2 separate regions of the Homo sapiens genome follow, and region 2 is linked to region 1. Evidence: promoter capture Hi-C in human tissues and cell types (Jung and others, 2019). All regions are on one chromosome and are shown on one strand. The core of a region is centred on a gene start or on the middle of the fragment in contact, and the rest is flanking DNA. Distances in the headings are between cores, read along the strand shown.

Evidence for each region. The method cuts DNA at HindIII sites, captures the fragments that hold promoters and counts their contacts. A contact is called where the count stands out against the background at its distance.
Region 2: a fragment that was not itself captured here is called in contact with the fragment with the promoter of PDCL in region 1 in 2 of the 25 tissues and cell types used here (adrenal gland and dorsolateral prefrontal cortex).

Annotation. Positions count from the first base shown.
Region 1 is chr9:122,826,788-122,830,945 of GRCh38, forward strand. PDCL (phosducin like) reads right to left here and starts at 1,801. Exons shown (of 4, transcript NM_005388.5): 1 at 1,684-1,801; 2 at 1-5. RefSeq lists an enhancer at 1,703-1,997. The HindIII fragment of the contact is 7,303 bases long and covers 1-4,158 here.
Region 2 is chr9:123,027,097-123,031,254 of GRCh38, forward strand. All of the region lies in intron 13 of RABGAP1 (RAB GTPase activating protein 1), which reads left to right. It also overlaps the pseudogene RPS25P8. Among named protein-coding and RNA genes, the nearest start is that of GPR21, 4.5 kb to the right of the region's middle. The HindIII fragment of the contact is 5,092 bases long and covers 1-4,158 here.

The DNA.
Region 1 (4,158 bases), core at 551-3,050:
GGTGTCTGGAAAAAGAAAGCATATCAGGTTCTTTGCTGATTTGAGCCAGACAGACATGAATCTGAAGCATAGGGGGCTCGCCTGTGCTGAGATCCTACAATTTCCAGGACACTAAAGTGATTATTTTCATAACCAAAATCTTAACAAATCCCTACCGTTACCCTGTGTGTTAGGGCTTATCACACTCTTTAACAGAAGGTAAAACTGAAGCTCAGATAAAGGAAGAGTCTTCACCAAGCTTAACAGCGAATGACGGAGCTGGGACCAGACCCCAGGGATTCCTGACTCCAAGAGCCTGAGGTATAAATTACTCTAGTCTGAGTTAAGTGTACAAGCCACCTGCACTGGCTTGGAGGAATCTACTGACTAGTGGTTTTATCTGTGCTTTTAGTTTTCCCACCAGCTAAGACTGCTGCCTAATTGAAAAATTGTTTAAGTATCCTCAGGAAAAACCCCAAAAAGAGGCATCAAGAGTACAATGCTGAGTCACTATTTGTCTAGGCAATCACTCTCTGTCACCAGCCTTCAACTTCCCAGACAACACCCTGAGGGCTTGGATGGATGGTCTCTGAAACGCTACCTATTCTGACAGTTTAAAAGAAGGGCCCATACAAAGATTTTAATAACTCCCAAGGGTTTAAAGGACTATGATGGCCGGGCTCGCGCAGGTAATCCCAGCACTTAGGGAGGCCGAGGAGGGAGGATCACTTGAGACCAGGTATTCGAGACCAGCCTGGCTAACATGGCGAAACTCTTGTCTCTACTAGTAAAAGCAAACAAACAAACAAACAAAAATTAGCCAGGTGTGGTGGCGGGTGTCTGTTTTCCCAGCTACTCAGGAGGCTGAGGCACGAGAATCTCTTGAATCCGGGAGGCGGAGGTTGCAGTGAGCCAAGATCACGCCACTGCACTCCAGCCTGGGAGACAGAGCGAGACTCTGTTTCAAAAAAAAATAAAAACTAAAAATATAAAGGACCAGGCTTCTGCATCAGAAGTAGCCAAGGGCATTCTGATGAAAAGATGCAGCTTAGCCCCCAGAGGCCTGCTTGAGAATTCAGCAGGAATGCGGCTGCCTTAAAGACTTATCACCGGGCCTATCATACTCCATTTACAAAGTGACTCTCTCCCACCGGGCAAGGAGTTCTTGAACGTAGGGACCTCTAGTCACTACCTCTATCCCCAAAGCCCAGCACAATGCCGCTGCACAATTTGCTAAACTCGCAGCCTGGGTCAACGGGAGAATCGGAGGACTCCAGCAGTCAGATGCAAAGGAGACAGGGATCATGGAGAGACAGGTGGAGGTGCCAAGAAGGAACAAAACCAAACTTAAGGCCCAGGAATGGGCCAAGCGGGGGACACAGCAGCGGCGGAGGGGAGGGAAGGAGTTGCGCTCCTAAAGGAGGGACCGCTGCGGGGAGGAGACGAGGGCGGGCCCCCTGGAGACGCGAGCAGAGGAGGCGGGGCCCCCGGACGGGAAGCAGAGGGGTGTGTGGAGCTTTTGGGGGAAGGCTGGAAGGGCCCGGGGGAGGTGGGGCCAGAGGAGGAAAGGGGACGAGGAAGACGCGGAGAACTTGGGGGTCGAGACAGAGCGAAGAAGGGGCAGTTTTACCCAAGCTCGCCAACCCCACTCCCTCCCGTAGTCCGCAGCTGCTGCCGCTTCCCGGTGGACCCCAATGCAGTTACCTGCCCTAGCTCGCTCCGGATCCCTTTGGGCCAGCAGCTCCGGGCGCCGGAAGGAATGGAGCACTTTCTTAAGAGGAAGAGCAGTGGGTCAGCGCCCTGAGCGCTAAAGAGAAAAGCCGCCGAAGCCCGACAGCGCGGACCAATGAGGCGGCCTTCCTGCGTCGTGGCGGACGCGCATTGTCCAATCAGAAGCCGCTACTCCCAGCTGAGGGGCAGGGGAGAAGCTACGGGTCCTACCTTGGAACAAAACACCTCGACAACAACGCTCTCCTAATTGCTTTGTTTTGGTTTTAATCTGCACAACAAAAAAGTGAATTGTATGACCCAGCGTCAAGCAATAAGAAAAATGTATTCACAGGCCGGGCGCGGTGGCTCACGCCTGTAATGCCAGCACTTTAGGAGGCCGAGGCGGGCGGATCACTTAAGGTCATGAGTTCAAGACCAGCCTGGCCAACACGTTGAAAACCCGTCTCTACTAAAAATACAGAAATTAGCCGGGCCTGGTGGCCGACGCCTGTAATCCAAGCTACTCGGGAGGCTGAGGCAGGAGAATCGCTTAAACCCAGGAGGCAGAAGTTGAAGTGGGCCGAGATCGCGCCACTGCACCCCAGCCTGGGCGACAGAGCGAGACTGTCTCAAAAAAAAAGAAAGAAAGAAAAGAAAAATGTATTCACTTCCCTTCGAAGTTTCCGAAGCCATTCAAAGTGTGTTTTTTATTGGTTCTTCATCGCATCACGTCTATTAGACGGAAAAGTGACTCAGAGACGTTCGGTAATTTGCCCGAGAGCACAAATCCCTCAAGTACAGGGCATAGATTAAAATATATATATATATTTTTTTGACGGAGTTTCGCTCTTCTTGCCCAGGCTGGAGTGCAGTGACGCGATCTCGGCTCACTGCAACCTCCGCCTCCCGGGTTCAAGAGATTCTCCTGCCTCAGCCTCCAGAGTAGCTGGGATTACAGGCGTCCGCCAGCAGACCCGGCTAATTTTTTCTATTTTTAGTAGAGACGGGGTTTCACCATTTTAAAGAAGCGGCAGCCAGGAGTGGTGGCGCGCGCCTGTAGTCCCAGCTACGCAGGAGGCTGAGGCGGGAGGATCGCTCAGCCCAGGACTTGGAGGCCAGCCTGGGTGACAGAGCAGGAATGTAATGTGAAATCCGGAATTGGCTCCTGGTATAGAAAAAGGACATGGGGCCGGGTGCGGTGGTTCACTCCTGTAATCCCAGCACTTTGGGAGGCCGAGGCGGGCAGATCACCTGAGGTCAGGAGTTCGAGACCAGCCTGGCCAACATGGCGAAACCCCGTCTTTACTAAAAATACAAAAATTAGCCGGGCATGGTGGTGCACACTTGTAATCCCAGCTACTCGGAGGCTGAGGCAGGAGAATCGCTTGAACCCGGGAGGCGGAGGTTGCAGACAGCTGAGATCGCACCACTGCACTCCAGCTTGGGGGTCAAGACTGAGACTCCGTCTCAAAAAAGAAAAATAAAAAGGACATGAATGGGACAACTGACGAAATTTGAATAAGGCCTATTAATTCATATTAGTAGTATTGTATCAATAGTTTTAATAATTATACTATGTAAGATGTGAACTTTTGGAGATTCTATTAGATGAAGAATCTAGGGAAGCACTATCCTATTTTTGCAACTTTGTTTTCTTCTTCCAGGGTAAAGCCATACTATGATATTTTGCAACTTTTTTTTCTTTTTCCTCAGGCATACTTTGTCGTCTGTTTTTGCAACTTTTTTAAAACCTAAAATGATTTCAAATTCTGAGCCCTTGTTGAAGTATCCAATACACAACCGTGAAGTTGCTCATAGAAAGCTTTGGGTAAATTGAATCATAGAAAATATTCTAGAAAGATACACTGTTTAAAATAGGGCTCTTAATTTGGGGTAGGGGATCTTAATTTGTGGTTCTAGGACCACCTGAAATTGTCTGCAAATTTCTGTACCTGCCTGTTTTCAGAGAGGCTGTTTGCTGAGGCCCTCAGAGGAGTCAAAAAATACCACACACAAACACACACCCATTCAAGAATACTGTATTAATAAGTCCGTTTTCATACTGCTGTAAATAAATAACCCAGTGTCAGGCAGTTCATACTGCTATAAAGAACTGCCCGACACTGGTTTATTTATTTATTTATTTATTTAAGACGGAGTCTTACTCTGTTGCCAAGGCTGGAGTGCAGTGGCGCAATTCTCGGCTCACTGCAATCTCCGCCTCCCAGGTTACAGGCTCCCGCCACCACGCCCGGCTAATTTTTGTATTTTTTAGTAGAGACGGGGTTTCACCGTGTTAGCCAGGATGGTCTCGATCTCCTGACCTCGTGATACACCCGCCTCGGCCTCCCAAAGTGCTGGGATTACAGGCGTGAGCCACCGCGCCCGGCCATATTCAACCTTTTTTAAAAAAAGTAGAAATGGGGTCTTGCTATGTTGCCCACGTTGGTCTCAAATTCAGACCTTTTA
Region 2 (4,158 bases), core at 1,036-3,535, 200 kb after region 1:
TTCTTTCTTTTCTTTTTTTTTTTTTTTTTTTGAGACGGACTCTCGCTCTCTCGCTCTGTTGCCAGGCTGGAGTGCAGTGGCACGATCTTGGCTCACTGGAACTTCCGCCTCCCAGGTTCAGTGATTCTCCTGTCACAGCCTCCCGAGTAGCTGGGACTACAGGCATGTGCCACCATGCCCAGCTAATTTTTGTATTTTTAGTAGAGATGGGGTTTCACCATGTTGGCCAGGATGGCCTCGATCTCTTGACCTTGTGATCCCCCCAGCTTGGCCTTCCAAAGTGCTGGGATTACAGGCGTGAGCCACCGTGCCCTGCCAACCAATATTTACATTTCTAATTGTTGAAAGGAATCCCTGGAGGCCCAGCCACATTTTGCTAGTCTGGAAAAAATAATGTATTCAATTATTATGTTATTACTACGCAGATTGTTTTGCTTTTTAATTAACAACTTCTGTCTGGTAGGTTTGTATTATTGAATAATATTTAATCATAAGCATATGCCTGTGGATACCCAACAATAAAAGGAGATCGATTTAGCAAAAAAGAATGTTGGCCATGGAGGAGGAAGCCTGGGTACTAGTTTCAGTTCTGCCGCTTCATTTCCTCTTCTCTGAACTGAGGTAGCTGAGGTAGTCTGTTGATTTTTCCTTAAGCTTTGACATTCTGGAAAATCAGACAGTGTGTTTGAGTCCTGCCCTCCAAAATAGGCCATAATTCCATTTTTTCACAACTGAGCACTCTTGCTGCCTTGTCCTACATGAAAATAGTGGCTGGTGGATGTTAGAACTGTATTGTCTGCTGTCATACAGCAATTGCTACAGTAGGTCCCTCTAAATTATTACTTGTGAACATAATTTTAAGCCCTATATCTTATCCCTGTGAAGTTATTTTCCTTTGTGTGAGTTTATGTAAGTCATACTTGCTGGGAGTTCTAAAGGTTTCCTGAATTATAAGACTGGAAACATATTTGGTTTGTCCATGTTAAAATTGCTATTTGACAGTTTTTGACCCACAAATAGGCAATTTCATATGCCTCGACCTAATAATTATAGGTGAGTTAAACAGTTACCATGCTGGGGTTTTACTTGAAAGATCTTTCAACTTAGAAGCAGAATTGCCTTTTGTTTCATTGGACATTCATTGTTTATTCAATAAAAAATACCTTTTGAATGCCTACCCTGTGCCAACCCTGTGGTAGGCCTCATGGATATGCCCATAAATAAAATAAACTTGTTCACTGGTTTCAGGAAGTCTGCAGTCTAATGAAGGAAATAGACAGTTAACTATAAACAATCATAAAGTTGCATGGGAGTTGTAGAAGAAAAAATATATACTGCTGTACTGCATATGACATGAAGGATTTCTCACCTAAGTGTTCTAAAAGGTCTCTTGCTCAGAAATTAGCCAGGGGTTGGATAGTTGGGGTGGGATAGGGTGCTGCATAACAGATGTGGTCTTAAAAGTCAGAGAGAACAGCGTGTACTCAAGGCAGTTCCATAGAGTGTGAATGGAGGTAAGACCAGAGAGGTGGTAGATAGGGAACAGATCTTTGAAAGCTTCAGAAGGCATATTTAAGGTTTTGGGCAACAGAAGCGAATGAAGCATTTTAAGCAGGCAGGTTATATATTCCGGTTTATAAGGCAGTATGCAAAGTGGTTTCCATCTAAAGGCAAATTGTCTTAATTCAGATCCTAGTTCTGCTGTATTCTAGCCATTGAAATTGGGCAATTTAACATTCATACGCTTTGGTTTCCTTATCTGTAAAATGGAATAATAATAGTTGTAGAGTTGTTAGAATTAATGTGTGAAAATTCTTAGTATAATCCATAGTCCATACTAAGTGTAAATAACTTAATATTATATATATTTTTTGCTTATTATCTGTATTATCAGGCTTAGAAAGATCACTCTGTTACTTGGGCTAGCATGGAGTAAGAATAATTGCAGCGAGACCCGTTAATAATTCAGGCAAGAGATAATTTCAACTTGGATTGGGGTGTAGTGGCAAAGGGATGGGGAAAAAGATGCTATTTAAGAGGATTTCAGAGGTAGAGTCCTTGGCACTCACTTGATGACTGAATGAATGTGGGAGATGAGGGCGAGGGAGGAATAAAAGATGAGTCAAAGTATCTCAAATCATTTTTGGAATGACAGTTACATAAATAAACTCACATCAGCTGCACTAAAATAATATGTTAATTAATCAATGTTTAAAGCTCATTTTTTTTTTTTACTTAATAAAGTTTTATTTTTCCAAATGTAGAGTTGCTTGGACCTGTTCATGCATCTTCACCAGCAGCTGGAGCATCTCTGCCCTTGGTATTTCTGGTGTAAATTACTTGAGCTCTGTGCTTTGAAACCAGTTTGATAAGTCCTTTACTAAGGAGCTCCAGAAGGGCTGCCCTGGCCAGGGAACCTCAAATCTTCAGTCTCTTAGAGACCACAACTGGAGTTATAAGTTTATAGTTGGGAACTTCCTTACAGAGTTTGTCATATGTAGCTTTGTCAAACAAGACAAGGTATTGAGCTTGTCCCTAACTTTGCCTTTGGACCATTTCTTCTTTTTGGCCTTGCCCCCGGGTTTGTTCACTGGGTCTTTGTCTTTCTTGGCTGACTTTCCAGTGTCTGTCTTCTTCTTGTAGTCCTTGGGTGGCATCGTGAAGCTCGGAGAGCAGTGGCGAACACTGCAGCCTTGCTAAGATGTCAGACAAAAAGTGAAGCTCATTTTTACCAAATAATAAGTGGTAGTTGACACTAATGCCCAGAGGTGAAGCTTAGGAATTTGAAGAACTGAGATAATTTATCATCTACAAGTAGTTAAGTCTCTGAATAGGTTGGGAGAAAAAGAAATATAATTTGAACAGGTCTTTTCCTTTTTTTGTTACATTTCATTTCTCGTTCTGCTTTTCTTTTTAAGCCTGTCATTTTGTTATTTTAATTATTTTGGCTTTTAAAGTTGTTTTAATTTCATTAGGTTGAACCATATAGAAATTGGCGTGTTTGCAGGTCAGAAAGTATTTAGCTAGCAATGAAATGGTTAAGTATCGGTAAGTTCGTAATTATATTCTTGTTCTGTAAGAGGTTTTAACTGACATTTTGGGAGTCCATTTTGAGTTAGATTGAGTACCAAAGACTGTCTGAAGGAATGTTGCTCTGATGGCATAAGAACAAGTGGAACAGAGCCCCATGAAGTAGACAACTTCAACCCAGCATCATTCTATCTTGCTAAATCAATATGGTTCTGAGAGTATATAGAAATTGGAAAATTCAGAAAATATAGAAAGCTATAAAGAAGAAAGATTTTTTAATGAATGTTATCCCACCATCCAATAATAGTGTTGATTTTTAATGTATTTCCTTTTAGTCATATATATATAGAAAGTTACTCAGCCTTCAAAGTAAATATAGAGAGAATATATCATGAGACTGCATTATTTTATTTTTTATTGTATTTTTTAATCAGCATATAACATACATACTTATGAGGTATATAAGGATGTTTTGATACATATAGTATATACTGATCAGATCATGGTAATTGTGCACATACCCATCATCTCTAACATTTATCAACATTTATCATTTCTCTGTGTTGGGAACATTCAGTAACCTCCTTCTAGCTATTTGAAACTACATAGTATTAACTATAGTCTTCCTAGAGTGGTATGGAACACTAGAATGAGTCTATGTTATGGTTAAAGACCAAATGTACATGTGGATTTCTGTAAGGATACAAATTTATAGAGCCTCCCCAAGTTGTTAATAAATTGTGTCTTTTGAAGAAAATGTTTTTCTTTAATCCAAAGCAAAACATTTAATTCCTGATTGATTCAGTTAAATGTGGCTATTAGTCTTTTTTTTTTAAAGTTTCTTAAATGAATATTTTGATTTTAGCTCCTAGAGTGGTTTCACTAAAATAGAAACAAAGTTGAAAGAACTGTTACTGTACTAATGGCAGTAATGTAACAGCTTGTAGTTTTGTTGCAATTTTATAAATTTTGAATTCTTTCAAATTTTCAGCCATTGTATTGTCTGTTTTTATCAGCGTAACTGTCTTGTTTTATACATGGGAAACCACAGAGAGAATAAGTTTCATGCCCAAATTCACAAGTAGTAGTAGAAAAGCCTAGACTTTTGACTTTGGTGAACACTTTTTC